Linked DNA regions of Homo sapiens: all the other regions are linked to region 2. The links are contacts of gene promoters, found by promoter capture Hi-C in blood cells and fetal thymus (Javierre and others, 2016). All regions are on one chromosome and are shown on one strand. The core of a region is centred on a gene start or on the middle of the fragment in contact, and the rest is flanking DNA. Distances in the headings are between cores, read along the strand shown. Region 1 overlaps RABL3 (RAB, member of RAS oncogene family like 3). Region 2 holds the start of POGLUT1 (protein O-glucosyltransferase 1). Region 3 overlaps GTF2E1 (general transcription factor IIE subunit 1). Region 4 has its middle 8.3 kb from the start of NDUFB4. Region 5 overlaps RABL3 (RAB, member of RAS oncogene family like 3). Region 6 has its middle 40 kb from the start of NDUFB4.

Region 1 (2,956 bases), core at 61-2,560, 1.3 Mb before region 2:
AAAGCAGAAGACACAGCTGTGATGGCCAGGAAAGTGATTGATGTTGTCACACATTCACTAATGTTAACCTTTATGTGCAAAGTTAGTTATTGTCTTTTTATCTTTTTAAAAGGTAATTTTGTCAGTCTCCTTTTAACTGCGATTTAAAAGTACACAGTCTGACAGTTTAGAATGCACTTTTTACACTTCCTCAGCCTTTCTTTCAAACCCGAAAGTTTATTTTTAAATAAAGGCCATTTCCCTTATAAAATTTTGAGGGTTTCACAAATATATAAAGAAATGACTTAGCCAGACAAGGTGGCTCTAGCCTATAATCCCAGCACTTTGGGAGGTTGAGGCGGGTGGATTGCTTGAGCTCAGTTCAAGACTAGCCTGGGCAACATGGCAAGACCCTCTCTCTACCAAAAACAGTACAGAAAGTTAGCCGGGCATGGTGGTGCACGCCTGTAGTCCCGCTACTCAGGAGGCTGAGGTGAGAAGATCACTTGAGCCCAGGAATTTGAGGCTGCAGTGAGCTAGGATCGTGCCACTGCACTCTAGCCTGGGTGATAGAGTGAGACCCTGTCTCCAAGAAAAAAAAATAAAAAGAATAAGTTGATATTTGGTGATTTGTTTTTATCCTATTGAGATATTTGGTAATTTGGTAAGGAACCCTGAAAGTCTCACTACCATACGGTTTTCTCTTTCTTTCAGAGATTAGGGACTAGTTTAACATATTACCAAACAGCTGTATTTGGAGCTGACATTTATTTATATTGGGCCTTTTTTACCCCCAAGCAAATCAAGTGCATTCTTTTGATCAAATTTAGTTCTAAAGGTGAAAACATAGAATCAGAATCTCCCAAAATTCTTAAAGAAATGAAATTCGCCATTATTCCCTAGCACTTCAACTGTTCTTACTGTTTAGGGTTTCATCCCTTCTTAGCTAATACTTATCACCCAAAGCAGTTAATTCATGGAGAGCTATACAATTCTACTGCCTGGAAATGTTTACCCTAACACAATTAAGCTAAACTAGGCCTCAAGTGTTGCATCAAGCTGATAATTAAGTGGATAGATACATTCCTTGAACATAAACAAACCTATTTACAAATACAGAATCAACAATACATCCTAAAAGTTACAGATATTAGACACAATGCAGTAAATTCAATGACAAATATAATTTTGAGTATTTAAAAATCTTAAATGTTTCTATATAAAAAAAGTAATAAAAGGGAAGCCTGAGAAAATGTTTGATTCAATTACACATACGTAAAATGATTAATATATTTAATAGATAAAGAGCTCATATAAATTAATGACACTAAAACCTGGTAGATAAAGGTACAGAGTAGATCAACAGAGAATTTATGAGAGGAAAAACAACTGATTTGCCAGAATAATCATAATGATAATCTTTGATCTTTATCAGAAAGTAAAGAAATGCAGACTAAAGCAAGCTGTCACTCCCCCACTGCCCGCCACCACCGAGACGGATTGTTGCTCTGTCACCCAGGCTGGAGTGCAGTGGCGCAATCTCGGCTCACTGCAGCCTCTGCCTCCTGGGTTCAAGTGATTCTCTTGCCTCAGCCTCCCAAGTAGCTGGGATTACAGGCACCCACCACCACGCCCAGCTAATTTTTGTATTTTTAGTAGAGACAGGGTTTCACCATTTTGGCCAGGCTGGTCTCGAACTCCTGACCTCGTGATCTGCCTGCCTCAGCCTCCCAAAGTGCTGGGATTACAGGTGTGAGCCAACGCACCTGGCCAAGATGTCACTTTTATTCCTTTATCAGGTTAACAAGGATGAAAAGCCAACTACATGATACTGTTGAGGTGCAACAAGACCTGCAGGCTCAAGTGTATGGCTGGTGGCAGTATAACCCCATGAAAGTTATTTCTCAATGCATATCAAGAACTTTAAATGTTTCCTTTTAAGTACTGAGTTTACTCCTGGGAAGGTATACTAAGGACATAATTTTAATTTTAAACAAAGGTTTAAACAGAAATAACCTTTCACTAGCATATCAAAAATTTCAAAACACCCTAAATATCTAATAATAATGGAAGAATGATTAAGTAAATTTTTATGCCTACTTTCTGAAGTACTATGGAGATACTTTAAATGTTTATGAAGATTTTGGAATAATATGGAAACTTTTAATAAATACTAATTAAGGTTCTGATCTAAATACTAGAGATAAAAAAGCTGCGTAAGAACCCTCAAGGAACTTAAAATTAAGGGAGTGGTTCCAAGATGACCAATTAGGAACAGCTCCAGTCTACAGCTCCCAGCGTGAGCGACGCAGAAGACAGGTGATTTCTGCATTTCCAACGAGGTACCAAGTTCATTTCACTGGGGCTTGTCAGACCGTGGGGGCAGGACAGTGGGTGCAGCCCACTGTGTGTGAGCCAAAGAAGCGCAAGGAGTCAGGGAATTCCCTTTCCTAGCCAAGGGAAGCGGTGACAGACAGCACCTGGAAAATTGGGTCCCTCCCACCCTAATACTGTGCTTTTCCAATGGTCTTAGCAAACAGCACACCAGGAGATTATATCTCTGACCTGGCTCAGAGGGTGCCACACCCACGGAGCCTTGCTCATTGCTAGCACAGCAGTCTGAGATCTGCAAGGTGGCAGTGAGGCTGGGGGAGGGGCGCCCGCCATTGATGAAGCTTGAGTAAGTAAACAAAGAGGCCAGGAAGCTCGAACTGGGTGGAGCCCACCGCAGCTCAAGGAGGCCTGTGTGCCTCTGTAGACTCCACCTCGGAGGGCAGGGCATAGCCTGAAACCTCTGCAGACTTAAATGTCCCTGTCGGACAGCTTTGAAGTGAGTAGTGGTTCTCCCAGCACAGAGTTTGAGAACAGACAGATTGCCCCCTCAAGTGGGTCCCTGACCCCCGAGTAGCCTAACTGGGAGGCACCCTCCAGTAGGGGCAGACTGACACCTCACATGGCCCAGTACCCCGCTGAGAAA
Region 2 (3,326 bases), core at 718-3,217:
TCTTGTTCTGGTCTGTCTGGTCCACACTCTCCCCCACAAGCCCTTACTCTGGTAGCGTGACAGCAGTAACCAAAATTACACTATTTTGTATTCCTTTTAAAGTGAGTGCATAGTAAGTTTTCAATAAGTATCATAAGCATCCAAGGAATTTTTTGAGGAGTCAAAAATAACATAAAAAGGAGCTTAAAAGACCCTGTTATTTAGCTGATGAAGAATCTGAGACCCAGAGGAGTTGAAGTGGCTCGGCACAGGGGTAACCAGTGGGAGTACCGGCACCAACACCCAAGTCTGTTTTCAGAGTTATCTTTCTACCATACCTCATCCCGGCCCTGATGTGCATTCTCTCTCTTTTTTGAGACGGAGTCTCACTCTGTCACCCAGGCTGGGGTGCAGTGGCATGATCTGGATTCAATGCAACCTCTGCTTCCCGGGTTCAAGCGATTCTCCTGCCTCAGCCTCCCGAGTAGCTGGGATTACAGGCACGTGCCATCATGCCCAGCTAATTTTTGTATTTTTAGTAGAGACAGGGTTTCACCATGTTGGCCAGGCTGGTCTCGAAATTCTGACCTCAGGTGATCCACCTGCCTTGGCCTCTCAAAGTGCTGGGATTACAGGCATGAACCACCATGCCCAGCCTGATGTGCATTTTCTAAAGATAACCATCAGGAAATTTAGGACTAGATTCAGCGATAGATGGGTTTATTTCCTCAACAATATTTATCGAGCACGCACTGACAGCTAGCACCAGGGAGACAACAGCAAATAAGACACAGACCCTGACCTCAGGAAGCTTGCAGCCCAGTGGGAAAAACAGATGCACATGCACTGAATCCCGCAGTGAGTCAGTGGTTAGGTTGACACCACCTGAGCCTTTCCCATGCGAGAGCATTTTTATTCCCCAGAAATAGAAAAACATCCTTGCCTTTCTGACCACTGCAACCAAAATCTCTCAAGGATGTTAGAATACTTCCTGTGACAGCAACTAAACTCTCAAAGACACATCAAAGAAAAGAACTCACCCATGGTAGCAGCTGCAGTTTTGACTTGAACATGGTTCGTAATTCTCCAAAGACCTGTTAATTTGGTCAATAAATACTTTCCATTTTGAACCTTTAAAAAGTGAAGTAAATGAGAGTTAAAAAAATTTTCCTGAATGTTATTTGCTGACACCACACCAACAGAAGAAACAGAAGACCAAAACTTTCAGAAATCCCCTTCCCATCCCACTGATGGAAACGAAACGCTAGGGAGGAATTTTTGTGTGTGCAACTCCCACGCTCACGTCAAGTCTGTTCCTCTATCCGGCTGTCAGGTGTCCAAGAAACTGGAAAATTCCCAAGCTTAATGCTCAACCCTCAGAATGCTATGGATAGTGACGCGGACTCTCACTTTCTACTAATCAAATTGAACTCCACAAAGAGGATCAGTTAAAAGCTACAGACATTAAACCCCTCTTCTCTTCTGGCAACGCATATACACACACGCTCGCGCGCACGACATTTGCCCCCATCCCCGACCCCTCAGTGTTTCAGGCAGGTCCAGAGTAGCCAAGCACGGGCCACGCCTCCTGCGGGTGAACGGGGAATTCCCTCTCCTCCCTGTCATTCTGAATTCCGGGGAATGGGTTACTCTCCAGGGTCCAGAGCAGGAGCAGAGACCCCGGCACCTCACTCTCCGCCGCAAGGCGCCCCGGTGCCTTCTGCCCAGCTCCGAGCTACAGCGGCCACGGCATCTTCCCGGGAGCCGGCCGCGCGGGGGAGCGCCTCGGGACTCCGGCCAGACCCCGAGCCCAAGGGGCAGGCTCGGCACTGCCCGGAGCCCACCTGACTCCTTCTGGCGGCCCTGCGCTGAGGGCAGGAGGAACAACAGCAGCCAGAGCCGAAGCGGCGAGCTAGCCCACCACTCCATCGCCGGCAGACCTACTGCAGATTCCCCGCTGCGGCGCTGGCGGAAGCGCGGCCCCGCACAAAGATGGCCCGGGAGCCGCAGCACGTGGGCGGCGGGTCGCCCCGCACAAAGATGGCCACCGTGGCCCCACCACCCTTCCTCCAGTCCCCAGCCTTGAGGCGGAGTTTCCCTGAGAAGGCTGCGCCGGGAAGGTGGGGAGGATAAACGAATGGACCAGTTGCCTATCCTCCCTCCCTGGCACCCCTGGGAAAATAGGTCTGCAGCCAGAAAACTGAAGGTCAGAGAGGGTATGTTTCACGGTTAGTGGCACAACCAAGACTTGGCATAGAGCCTAGGCCAAACAGTTCTTCTCTTGACGTCAAATTGCCTCTTATCAAATAGCATAAATTTGTTGAGCATGTGTGTGTGTGTGTGTGTGTGTGTGTGTGTGTGTGTACAGCACGGTTAGACCCCAAAGGTTGCAATTAGCATAGCAGGGATCCCTTTGTAATAGGAATTTATAACAGTTGGGGTGACTTAGACGTAGGAAAAAAGATCAATGGTGTTAAATAAAGTTTATGGGAGGTCGTTGTTTTGGACAGAACTCTGGCACTAGGCCTCAAGAGAGCAGACAAAACCAGAATGGAGGCAACTTGTCCTAGGTGCTGCGTAATTAAACTCAGCTTTAAAAGGGGTCAGTTTTCCAACAAATAGGAGAAGGGGCCCATATACCTGAGCTGGCATGATAAAGAAGTCCCCTCTGATGTAACTCTTTGAGGAAAGTAACTTCAAAATGACCAATCTGCTTTTTGTTCCTTATTTCTGCTTTCTTCAGCCCTTTTCTGCCTATAAGCCCAACCCCTTCTGCTCAGCTCATTAGAACACTTTTCTGTTTTATAGATGAGATGCTGCCTGATTCATGAATCACTAATAAAAGCCAATTCGATTTTTTTTTTTTTTTGAGACAGAGGACAGTCTAACTCTGTTGCCCAGCCTGGAGTGCAGTGGCACAATCTTGGCTCACTATGACGTCTGCCTCCCGGGTTCAAGCAATTCTTCTGTCTCAGTCTCCCGAGTAGCTGGGATTACAGGAGTGTGTCACCATGCCCGGGTAATTTTTGTATTTTTAGTAAAGACAGGGTTTCACCGTGTTGGCCAGGTTGGTCTCAAACTCCTGACCTCAGGTGATCTGCCCACCTCGGCCTCCCAAAGTGCTGGGATTACAGGCGTGAGCCACCATGCCTGGCCAAGAACTTTAAACTAAATTTGATGAAATTTTGTTTCTTGACAGTGGGCAACATGATACTGGACAATATAGGTATATAGTATAGTACAGGTATATATCTTTATACAGGTATATATAGGTCAGTGTAGATATATTTAGTAATCATAGAACTACAAATATTTATCTATTTTCTTTTTTTTTTTTTTTTTTGAGA
Region 3 (2,992 bases), core at 218-2,717, 1.3 Mb before region 2:
CAATAAAGAATAGAATATTGTATCAAAATCCAAAGCATCAAAACTAAAAAGCAACTCTTCACAAATAAGCAAATAAATTAGCTTTTATGTCACTGGCATCAAAATACAAAAAAGATAAAAGATTGTTTTTTTTTGTTTGTTTGTTTGTTTTCTGAGATGAAGTTTCACTCTGTCGCCCAGACTGGAGTGCAGTGGTGCGATCTCGGCTCACTGCAACCTCTGGCTCCTGGGTTCAAAGGATTCTCCTGCCTCAGCCTCCCGAGTAGCTGAGATTACAGGCGCACTCCACCACGCCCAGCTAATTTTTGTATTTTTAGTAGAGATGGGGTTTTGCTATGTTGGCCAGGCTGGTCTTGAACTACTGACCTCAAACGATCCACCCACCTTGGCCTCTCAAGGTGCTGGGATTACAGGCATGAGCCACTGTGCCCAGCCAAAATGTTTTTTTAAAAAAGTTCTCAAATCCTCAAAATCAAAAGCAGCAGAATTTTAAAAAATCAGACCTAAAGGTTTTGTGGTGGAAGGGTAGAAGAGGGACGATACTTGTTCCTATCTTTCCATAACTCATTTTTATATATATTTTAACTTTTTCTAATAAATTTCCCCCCCTTACTCCCCCCACTCCCCAATCCATACCTTTGAGTTCTGTGGCATAATTGTCTAACCCATGCTGGATAAGATTCCAAAGACTGAGGACTCAGCAACTGAGCAAAACAATCTTGGAAAGATTTCTTTTTGTGTTTGTGTTTTTAGCACTTCAGGAATTGAAAACACTGCTTATAAGATACCTCCTGTCCTGGCAATAACAAATGCTGGCAAGAACGTGGAGGAAAGGGAACTGTCGTACACTGTTGGTGGGAATGTAAATTAGTACAATCACCATGGAGAACAGTTTGGAGGTTCCTCAAAAAACTAAAAATAAAGCTACCATATGATCCAGCAATCTCACTGCTGAGTATATACCCAAAAGAAAGGAAATCAGTATATCAGATGTATCTGCATTCCCATGTTTGTGGCAGCACTGTTCACAATAGCTAAGATTTGGAAGCAACCTAAGTGTTCATCAACAGATGACTAGATAAAGAAACTGTGGTGCACATACACAATGGAGTACTATTCAGCCATAAAAAAGAATGAGATTCAGTCATTTGCAACATAGACGGAACTGGAAATCATTATGTTAAGTGAAATAAGCCAGGCACAGAAGGATAAACATTGTACCTTCTCACTAATCTGTGGGATCTAAAACTCAAAATGATTGAATTCGGGGACACAGAGAATGAAAGGATGGTTAGCAGAGGGTAGAAATGGTAGTAGGGATGGGGGATGGCTAACTGGTAAAAAAAATAGTTAGAAAGAATGAATAAGACCTACTATTTGATAGCACAACAGGGTAACTATAGTCAATAATTATACATTTAAAAATAACTAAAATAGTATAATTGGATTGTTTGTAACACAAAGGATAAATGCATGAGGGGATGGATACCCCATTCTCCATGACGTGATTATTACACATTGCATGCCTGTATCAAAACATCTCATGTACCCCATAAACATATACACCTATTTAGCCACAAAAAATTTCTTTTAATTAAAAAAATTTTTAAAGATATCTCCTATTCTAAGTAGAAAGAGAAGACAGGAAAAAGCAGCCTGCCCTATGAAGGCAAACTCTTTAATCAAGTCTCACAAATAGAGAATCTTAAAAATTTTTAAATGTTAGGGTAAGGGAACAGAAAAGGAATCTCAATGAATGGGGCCATCAGGAAATGGATCTGTCCAAACCAAAAAGTTTTATCTGTAGTCACAAGCCAAGAAGGGACTCATATGATTTAACTCCAAACTTACATATGAATATCTCAAGTAGATACCAAGTTTACTTGACTATTCCAAACTCAGAACTCATCACTAGAAGAGATCTATTCCATTGTTGGCTATTTTTACGAGTTATTTATTAGACACTTACTTAATTATCAAAGACTTCTTTATGCTAATACTAAAATCTGTTGCTAAGTCTTTCCATGGAGCCAAACAAAACAAGGTAAATCTCCATGAGAAGTGTCATATTCTCCCTTAATAGTAAATCTAAAACAGCCTAGCAATGTATATACCCCTAGATTTATTCGTTATTACATTATGCGATCCTCCAAATCCAAGAGTACAACATAGGCATGTCCATGTGCACCCACATACACATTATTTGTTGAGTTGAACTAGATAATCTCTGAATTTCTATTTCTAAGATTTTATTAAATATACATTTATAAGATTCTTTTTTAAAAAAAAATTAAATTATCTCATCTCAAAATTTAAAATGTGACTCCTAGGTCCCTAGGTGAATGCAGTAAAAGGGGCTCCCGAATTATTTCCAATTCAAACATCTAACAATTCTACTCCACCCACTCACAGTAAAACTACAATGCCATATATGTTTTTAGAGAAGCTCTAAAACTGTATTTTTTTGCCCAATATTCCCACTGCCAAGAATTCATAAGAAAAAATGTGAACAGGAATAATGTGCTATATATACAAAGGTATTCAAAGCATCTTATCTATACCAGCAAAAAATAGATACCCCCAAAGTGCCCAAAAGGAGGGGAAAGGAAAATGGGAAAAAATTACACCTATTAAAATGTATTTTGAACACTAGATAGAAACAGGAGAGTTTGGTACATTAAGAAACCAAGAGATCATAAACTATTCTAAGCTATGATTGTAATTGTAGGTAATACGTAAAAGGCTGGTGGCTTTGTGGGTGATTTTTTTCTCTTCAAATTTGTCTCTGGCATTATGGTTGCATAATTTTTAAACTAAAAATGGAAAATATAAAGCTATTTCCAAATCATCTAACCTTAACATCTAAAAAGAGCTAAGATCCCCCTCTGCCCTTCAGGAGAAGCATGCTGTTGAACTTAACTTAGAAGTGTTAACTTAGGGTGATTAACTAAATCACCCATGGTTGAGACTGCTAAAATAGAAATACTTAAGT
Region 4 (3,045 bases), core at 340-2,839, 1.1 Mb before region 2:
ACCCCCAGTGGATGCCTGAAACCATACAGATAGTACCAAACCCTATATATACTGTTTTTTCCTATAAATACATACCGATAATAAAATTTAATTTAGAAATCAGCCTCCAAAAGAGAATAAAACAATAACTAATAGTAACATAGAACTATCATTATATACTGCAATAATAATAGTAAACACTGTTATGTTATGGGAATGTGGTCTCTCTCTCTCAGAACATCTTATTGTACTGTCTCACCTATTTTAGAACTGTGGTTGACTTCAGATAACTGAATAAGTGGGGACTACGGGGTAAACTAAAGTCATCTAGAAAAAAAGACGGAAGGTCACAGTAGGATTCCTTCTGTTTTTGCCCTCTAGCAAAATGAGAATCAAGTAATACAATTCTTTAAGATCTGGAGAACAATATAACAATAATGGCCATTAGGATGGGTGGAAGAAGCAGGGTCTTACCGTTATTGTAATGATATGGGCAGGGGCAAATTAGCAAACAGGAACCACATGGAAATCATATGATTTGGTCAAGTCTCATGGGCACAGGATGGTAGCTGTAGATCCAAAATAGTTTTAAGATCCATTTTGCAGGAATTCATGGATCTTTACTCCACCATTACACACAGCTACTCCCACGTGTCTACCACCTTGGCCCCTTTGAATTGCTGTTTCTCACACCTTCTAGTATTTCTGCCTTAAAGCTTCTGTTTACTCATAGATTAGATTCCTCATTACCTTAATGCACTAGTATAAGATCCAGAAAGTGGGAGATAATCTCTATAAAGGTTTAGGAGCTTCCCATATCAGTGATGTTTGTGGGTATCCAGTGGTCTTTGGCATGCCAGGATAGCCCCTCCAAAGTAAAGCACAAGTTGAACCACTTCACACCCTCTACTACAAAGAAAAAGGCACAGCACTTTGTGGGCCTCTGGATTCTGGAGACAACACATACCCTACTTGGGAACAGTACTCTGACCCATTTATGCAGTGATTTGTAAAGCTGCCAGTTTTGTTCTTCCAGAGAGAGGGTCACAGTTTGTCACCCAGGCTGAAGTGCAGTGGGTGGCATGATCATAGCTCCCTGCAACTTTGAACTCTTGGGCTCAAGAAATCCTCCCATCTCAGCCTTCCAATTAGTTAGGCACATACCAGGCATGCCTGGCTATAAGCTGCCAGTTTTGAATGGAGCCCAGAAAGGACTCTGCAGCAGATCCAGGCTGCAGTGTAAGCAGCAGCCACTTGGGTCATATAACACAATAAAGCCAATACTCTAGGTGTCTGTGGTAGGTAGCTAAGGATGCTGCTTGGAGTCTCCTACAAGACCTTGGCAACAGAATAGTTGCAGTGCTGACTTCTTAGGTTGTGGAGCAAGGCCATGCCTTCTGCAGCAAAGAAAAATTCACCATTCCAAAAGCAGCTGGGCACCCAGTATGAGATGAGGTGACCATTCAACCAGAACTGCCTATCAAGATCTGGACAGTCAGAAGCACTGTCATGTGATTGGATGTACACAGCAGCTCTAGGGCACAGATGAATTTAGCTAAGCCTACTAAAGGCTTAGCTAAAGTACCAGCTTAAGGACATCTAGCAGGACTGAGGCTCAGGGTTGACCATGTGGTATATGCAATGAACCAATGGTCATAGATACAGTGCTATGCCCCAGCAGCTAGAATTTATGACTCTGAGAACCAAGAAGTAGGATTGGCCCCTTTTGCCATCCCAGTAACTCATGGTGGAATGTGCACTTCCCCTCCCTCCAAATTTAGGTTCTGCTGGAAGAAGTCCTGATTCCCATGCTGGGGCATAAGAACACTTTCACCAGGGAAACAAAATAATCTGGTACTTCTTGTATTTGGGAAACAGTAGACCGAAAAAGAAATTTCCATACTGGCAGCAGTAAGTGACCCACGGAGCTAGGGTTGCTGCTACACAATGGGGCAAAAAGGGTAATGTCTGGAGTCCAGGGGATTCACTGGAGCATCTCGGTGCTTCCACTTCCAGCCCAGCTGTAAACATGCAATTGCTACAACAAAGGGCTGATGATGATAGAGTAACTAAGATTCTGGTCCTTAGAAATGAAGGCTTTGGTGACTTCATCTGGCTAGCAATCTAGACCTGCTAAAATGATGGCCAAGGAAGGGAAATCTAGTAAATACGATGAGGGGAGATGAATGAGTTACAGACTCTGGGCCAGTTGCAACAGTATGTACTGTAGCTGGTTCCACTAATTGTCCATACTGAGTGTTCTGTAGATTGTATACAGCCATCACCTTGAAGGACATGTTATAGACTGGACTCAGTGTATGTCCAAATAGATCCAAGCAGCGCATGAAGTGGAGGAAGAAATCCTATATCTCTTTTGCCTGCCTCACAACCTCTTGGTCCACCTTTTTACTCTAACTATTGCTGCCACTGTCAGCTGCCTGCAAGTGTGACCTGACAATACTTTACCTCAGCTGCACATCACTTGCTTTCTGCCCTAAGCTTCCTTTCTCCCGCATGTGTAATGCCTGTAAAAACATCGTCAGCCTTTCCAGAGTATGTCCATACCCTGATGTACACGAGAATTGCATGGGATAACCCTTGACCAATGGAGACAAGACAAACATTTGCTTTTCCCACATCTGGTTGAAAAATTCTACATTCCACAGGGCTTCTCAGAAGGTCCCAGGTGGGAGCCTGTTACTCTCAGAGGCAACAGGTTCATGGCACATGTTTGCTGGCTTTCCCTCCTTCCATGTTTCACTCTTCCCAAACTTCTATTCCTTCAGATCACTTCCTAATATAAACTACCTGCACAGAAGACTTTCCCTCAGTCTCTGCTTTCTGGGGCAACCCATGCTTATGCAAGCTTCAAATCAAAGTAGTCGTGGATATCCTTTGAAAGTTAAGACCAATATACCATCTACACCAGCCTTACAGAGCATGCTGGTTATCTACAGCACTTGACTTTACTCTGCCTTTGTGGTGAAATTATCACCCTACTGTTTCCAGACTTAACTACAAAGCATAATACTGTTATTTCATTGTCATCTTCATGACCTTGTGAGG
Region 5 (2,923 bases), core at 241-2,740, 1.2 Mb before region 2:
TTTAGATGAGTGAGTCAGTCTGGCTTGGGAGTATGCATAGCCTGAAAGGTGCTGGCTAACAGGTTTGGTACAATGCAAGGCTAAGAGGGTATGCTGCCTAGAAATTTACATTGGATGATGGCTATTCTCAGAGGAGTTATAGTCCTTTAGAGGAGGCAACATTAGGTACTTGAAATAATTTAGAGAAAAAAAATGGTGTACTGCAGTGGTTGCCAAACTTAATCATGTATCAGAATCACCTAGGGAACTTTAAAAAAAAAAAATACAGACTCTTGAGCCCCATCCCAGAAGTTTCAAGGACAGTCCAGGAATCTGTATTTTTTAACAAACTTCCTATTGGCTTTGATTTAGTTTGCTCTTGGAACTGTACTGGAGAAACACTGGAATTCGGTAAATAATAAACTGAACATAATAAAAACCTGGAGGATGAGTTATCCTAAATTTATTCATGTATTTAATAAACATGTCTAAGCATCTAATATATGCTAGATATTATGCTATTTTCTAGGGCTAAAGGATGAATAATACATGGTCCGTGCCCTTACACTCAGAGTCTAGAAGAAGAGATATCAGTAGATAAATAAGACAGTGTGCTTAGTGAAATGATAGAGGTGTGTAGGATGCTATGGAAGCAAATAGGAGGAGTACCAAACCTGCTCTGGTTGATTTGGGCCCAGAAGGAAGGTAGGATCAGAAAGACTTAACTGAAGTCGCTGAGCTTTTTCATAACAGATAACTTACTCTTTATAAGACCTCATACTGCTTTTTCTCATTGTTTTGCTTAGAAATCTTGCTAAAACATATGTTTTTTCTGCTTGGTTTAACTTTTTTACTGCTAACTTGACATGATCACATATTATAAGTTATTTTTGCCATATAACAAAATAGTGATGCCTTCTATTGTAATATGCAGAATTAATTTCCATTATCCCAAATGGTCCTCAACTGCTGCAACTGTGCTATTCTCATTTTTCTGTCATACTGTCTTTGATGTCAGTCTGATAATTGTCTTCTTAATGTCAATGTGGCTGTTTATAGAGTAGCATATTTATTTAAATTTTTCCTTGGCCAAAAGGATTTGGACAAAAAAATTGTGAATAAGTAAAAGTGTAAAGCATTAAGTTGAATGTAGTATGTGAGTTTTAGTGCATTTTATGACATCTATTTTAACTACTGAGCTATCTTGTTTTTTTAATTATTATGTCAAAGCCAGTAGATACTTTAGAAATCACATAATACAATTCTTTCATTTTATAGGCAAAGAAACTGAGGCTCCAAGATACCAGGGACGATCAGTGGCAATCAAGGAGTAGAATCTAGGCCTCCTGATACTGTAATAGTCCCATTCTATGAAAGCAGCAGTTCTTAACGAGGGGATTACAGCAGAATCGTTTGGAGAATTGTTCAAAATACACATGCCTAGTATTTAATCCCAAAGGTCCTGATTCAGTAAGATTGGCATGTATATTTCTTAAAAAAAATTAATTCTTGGAAAATGCCGATGTGTACTCATGAACCAGCATACTTTAATCTGCTTGCCATATATCATAATTTGTTTCTGAATAGTTATACAGTACAGGCAGTAAATGCCTATAGAGCCTAGACATGAGAAAAAGAGAGTCTTTGGAGATAACTGTGAGTGAGAAAGTCATTGGAGGGTTTTGAGCAAAAGAGCGTATGATATAACTTGCATTTTTAAAGGATCACTCTAGCTACTGTATAGAAAACAAACAGGGAGGTTGGGGGATGCCTCTAGTAGGGAGATCAGTCAGAGACCATTATATCAATTCAGGCAAGGAGATAGAGACTTTGACCTGGGTGGTAATAGTGGAGATAGGGAGAAATGAACAGATTTTTGACATATTTTTTTAAAGTCAAAGAAGCAGAACTTGTTGGCAAATGCAATAATGCAATATGAAAGGAGTCAAGGATCAGTCTTAAGTTTTTGGCCCAAGTAACTGGAAGAATAAAATTGCCTTTTAGATGAAATTGCCACAAGAATGAGTATTGATAGAAAAGAAAAGAGACTGAAGAACTAAACCTTGAGACACATTAGCAATTAGAAATCAGAGAGATAAGAAGGACCCAAATGGAAGCTGAAAAGCACTAGCCAATGAGATAGGAAGAAAACTAGAAGAGTGTGATATCCCAGAAGCCAGGTGAAAAATGTTGCAAGACACGAGGTGGATCAAATGGTGGAGTAAAATGAAAACTGTTAATTGACCATTGGAGTTAACAATGTGGAGGTCATTGGTGACCTTGACAAGGAATAGTTCATTGGGGTCATTAGGGCATAAGTTCGATAGAAATGAGTTCAAAAGAGAATGTGAAGAAAAGGATTACCGCTAAGAATAGACAACTCTTTGGAGGACTTTTGCTGTGAAAAGGAAAAGGAAAGTGGCATGGTAGCTGGAAGAGGACTTGAGGTCAAGAGAAGGATTTTTTTTAGATGAGGAAAATTATGCCATGTTTGTATGCTGAGAATTGAATTGTGTGGTGAGGATTATCCAGCTGAGAAGGAAAATTTGATGGTATAAGGGAGAGACGGGAGAACTGGTAGAATTACATCTTTAAGCAAGAAAGTGGGGATGGGATCTCATGCACAGAAGGAGGATTTAGCCTTAGGGACATAGGCAGCCTAAGAAAACAGCAAGAAGGAAAGCAGATTATGTGGGCACAGATGGAGAAAGGCAGATAAATACAGGAAGAACAGGTTGTAGAAGCTCCTTTCTAATTGCTTCTGCACTAGGAAGCAAAGTTAGTTTTAACTGAGGATGGGGAAGAGATATTAGAAGTTTATAAAGAGGAAAAAGTATGAAATAGTTATCTGGAAGAGGAAAATGGTAAATTAACTGTGGAATTGATTGAAGGACAGCTCCAAAGGTACACTTAAATTTAGAAAGAATCCATTCATCTTGAATGC
Region 6 (3,059 bases), core at 156-2,655, 1.1 Mb before region 2:
AGGTGCTCTGGTTGAGTCTGGTCCACTCTGCCACAGTATCTTTACTCACAGTGATTTTCTCTTGGGGACTTCATCACTGTCTTCCTCTCAAACTGACTTTTGCTTATAACACAGTTGGAAGAGAGAGTGAGAGAGACTGTGTGTGTGTGTGTGTGTGTGTGTGTGTGTGTGTACCCTTGGAAAATAGAGTTTAAATTTTATTTCTGGGGAATTGGGAATGTCACCAATCGTGGTGTTAAGGCACTAGAGCATGCCATGACAGTCAAAAGGCACCCCAGCAAATGATAGAAGGTGCTTCACCTGGAGCCCACAGAGGGCTCTGGGGCAGTGCTACTTATCAAGAGCCTATCTCAGTTCCAGCCCTAAATATTGCTACTATGGTGGTGGTGATGTACCCCCCTAATTTCTGCATTTCATGGTCCCTGTCTCCAAATCTATCTGGCTCTATTGGTTCAGATTCCTATCCCAATTCCTATTATGTTTCAGCTCCTAGTCCTGTGTGTCCCTGAGAGGAAGAGACTGATATCAGATCTGGTAGGACATGATACTCTTCAATCTTGTCACCATAACTTTCTCCTGGAGCCATGGAATGTAGCAGTGGTATGATCCGATCCCGCCTGTCCCTGTCCTGCCCAATACTTGATAGCTGTTCTTTCCTAGTTCCAGAACCTGATTGGACCAAGTTTAAGACCAAGGTAGGGAGTGGGAGGCAGATAGGCAATGCAATGCTATTCAACATTTAAGAATACTTCCCACTTACTTGTCCTTGTCAGGCCCTGGCCATACAGACAGGCTGTACAAGACATAGGCCCTGACCTCAGGGAGTAAATGTTTTTATTGAACTGACCCACTGTGTCTCTGAATGAGAACAAAAATGAAACTGCTGCAGAAAAACCCAGTGCTACAAAGTGCTAGCATCATCAGGAGGCAGGCTGCCTCTGCAGTGCAATCCATAATCTCTGTGACTTCCAGAACCAAAAAAAAAAAAAAAAAAAAAGTTAAATTACTTTCTAAAATTAAGCTTTGCATTACTTTGGAAACTAACAAAGCATTCCTTCCCACAGACACTGTTCCCAAATTAAGTATTTTGTGCTTATACAGCTGCTCAAATGTTGGTGCATTGAAGATGGAAAAATTTCTTAGGTAGGGAAGAGATGGGGTGCCTAGAAAGGAGAGGGGAGCTCTGTCGGGGGGAGAGCAGCTGTGGTCACTAGCAGAGATTATAGAATAGTTGGAAAAGATTATCAAGTAAATAAGTGTATAAAATGTTTCTAAAGTTATTAGGTCTAAATAAGTGTAGGTTAAGGGGGCCTGTTATGGTCAAGTATTTAAAAGCATCCTTTCAAGTGAAAACCTTGGTCAGTGGCTATTCCCCACCTGTAATCAATAGGAAATGGAATAAAAGTAAACTACCGAGGGGGCATCTTAAGGTCAATGTGAGGCCTATTGTTCAAGATTTCACAGCGATTAAACCCTAGAATGGGTCACAGAGAATAGGTGGGCACTTTCCTCTAGAGGCATTTATTGAAAGAACAGAACTGTCTTGTTATCACATGCTGCAGGTAACATCCAGTGTAGAGACAGAGGCATGACTTGGATGAGCTAACTTCCCAGGTTCTCTTCTATTAAATAGATTGGAAAGTCAAAGAACTCATACAGCATTAGAGGCCCCCCATAGCAGCTAGAGAGAAATGGACAGGTGAAAGGCCCATGGTCCTCACTTGTCCGCCTCCCACCGACAACATGCCAGGGCCTGCCATTGAGCTGCCTGTTTCATTTTGTAAGCTTGTGCCTAGATGTTTGCCTTGCAAACATGTGAGCTGTCTTGGCAAACGGTTTTGTAGAAAGCCCTCACTCACAAGAATTCCATCTGCAATATTTGGACTGGCTTCTAGGACTCCCTTTTCCGCACAAGCTGTTCCCTCCTTATCTCTGGGTCTCTTCCAGAAGGTCATCAATGTTCTGCTGTACAAGGGTCATCTGCTTGCCACACTATTCCCCAGCTCCTGGAACACAGCACTGTTTTCCATGGTGGCAGCAGCAGGAATATCTTCCTCCTCAGCATGATTTTCCAGGCCCAAGATAAGCTCACAAGCACCAAAAGACACAAGGCCATGGCCTCATGGACCTCACACCCAGTAGCCTGATCTGAGTTTAAAAAGGCAGACCTGCTGTCTTAGCTGGGGGAGTAGAGGAGAGTTAGTGGGAGGGGCTACTATGGGTTTAAGTTGACAGAGAGAGGTGGTGCAGGAGCAGAGAGCAGCCAGGAGCACCTGAGGAAGGCTGCGAAGGTCATCTGGGTGGGGGCGGGTTCCAGGGGAGGAGCACTTTCTGGCAGGGTGAGGTGGGGGCGGTCCTGGAGAATGTACCCATAAGGCCAAGTCCAAGGCCTGGGTGGGGTCTCTGACACTTGTAGACACTTGGCACCAAGCCTCAGTGTAATCTTGCTTCATCTCCCTGGATTTCTACCATCATTAATGACTGTGACTTCAGTCAGGGACTACAGAAAGGGAACACTCAGTGATAATCTAGAGGCAAGGACAATTGACCAAATAATCAGATATGGCTCCAGTTTAAGTCCTTTGCCCCATTATTACCCTGCCCTCTCTTCATTATCCTATATCCCAAGTCCTTACTTTCCCAGATGTGGTGGAGAAGGTAAAGAATTCCAAGTTGTTGTAAGCAGGGTCACTCCCCATAAAATGAGATCATCTCACACCCTAGGGACTGACTCAATTGAGCTCCACTGGCCAGAGTTCTGATTGCATCTCCCCAACCGAAAGAATATTAATTCCAGGCAAAGGAGGTCTCTGTCTCCTGCATAGTAGATACTAATGACTCCACTATGAGAAAAATCCTAGAGTGATAGAGTATGAGAGTCAGCAGGGACTGTAGAGATTACATATTGATCCAACACATTCATGATAGATGAGGGAACTGAAGATTAGGGAGATGACATAAGGTCCAAGGCCACCCAGGAAGTTGTTGAAAAAATCTGGACTAGAACCCAGAAGTCTTTGGCCCAGTAACACACTAGCTCTTCCTCCTATCTTACCTGG

The links. Contacts are between HindIII fragments. The CHiCAGO score rates a contact against its expected background, and 5 or more counts as called.
Region 1: a contact is called between a fragment that was not itself captured here and the fragment with the promoter of POGLUT1 in region 2, in 6 of 17 cell types (fetal thymus, total B cells, activated CD4 T cells and 3 more). The highest score is 8.9, in fetal thymus.
Region 3: a contact is called between a fragment that was not itself captured here and the fragment with the promoter of POGLUT1 in region 2, in 1 of 17 cell types (neutrophils). The highest score is 7.2, in neutrophils.
Region 4: a contact is called between a fragment that was not itself captured here and the fragment with the promoter of POGLUT1 in region 2, in 1 of 17 cell types (neutrophils). The highest score is 11.3, in neutrophils.
Region 5: a contact is called between a fragment that was not itself captured here and the fragment with the promoter of POGLUT1 in region 2, in 2 of 17 cell types (total CD4 T cells and non-activated CD4 T cells). The highest score is 5.1, in total CD4 T cells.
Region 6: a fragment that was not itself captured here is called in contact with the fragment with the promoter of POGLUT1 in region 2 in 1 of 17 cell types (monocytes); the score reaches 5.0 in monocytes.

Annotation. Positions count from the first base shown.
Region 1 is chr3:120,737,892-120,740,847 of GRCh38, reverse strand. The region is part of intron 1 of RABL3 (RAB, member of RAS oncogene family like 3); the gene reads left to right. Among named protein-coding and RNA genes, the nearest start is that of RABL3, 3.1 kb to the left of the region's middle. The HindIII fragment of the contact is 2,693 bases long and covers 1-2,656 here.
Region 2 is chr3:119,467,604-119,470,929 of GRCh38, reverse strand. It overlaps POGLUT1 (protein O-glucosyltransferase 1), which reads right to left and starts at 1,967. Exons shown (of 11, transcript NM_152305.3): 1 at 1,824-1,967; 2 at 1,020-1,110. The coding sequence starts at 1,908. RefSeq lists a silencer at 1,691-1,890 and enhancers at 1,941-2,110, 1,803-2,303. The HindIII fragment of the contact is 3,798 bases long and covers 1,343-3,326 here.
Region 3 is chr3:120,754,087-120,757,078 of GRCh38, reverse strand. All of the region lies in intron 2 of GTF2E1 (general transcription factor IIE subunit 1), which reads right to left. Among named protein-coding and RNA genes, the nearest start is that of GTF2E1, 13 kb to the right of the region's middle. The HindIII fragment of the contact is 3,094 bases long and covers 1-2,992 here.
Region 4 is chr3:120,603,085-120,606,129 of GRCh38, reverse strand. No RefSeq gene overlaps it. Among named protein-coding and RNA genes, the nearest start is that of NDUFB4, 8.3 kb to the right of the region's middle. The HindIII fragment of the contact is 1,783 bases long and covers 698-2,480 here.
Region 5 is chr3:120,710,303-120,713,225 of GRCh38, reverse strand. All of the region lies in intron 2 of RABL3 (RAB, member of RAS oncogene family like 3), which reads left to right. Among named protein-coding and RNA genes, the nearest start is that of HGD, 30 kb to the right of the region's middle. The HindIII fragment of the contact is 3,405 bases long and covers 1-2,923 here.
Region 6 is chr3:120,555,134-120,558,192 of GRCh38, reverse strand. No RefSeq gene overlaps it. Among named protein-coding and RNA genes, the nearest start is that of NDUFB4, 40 kb to the left of the region's middle. The HindIII fragment of the contact is 764 bases long and covers 1,024-1,787 here.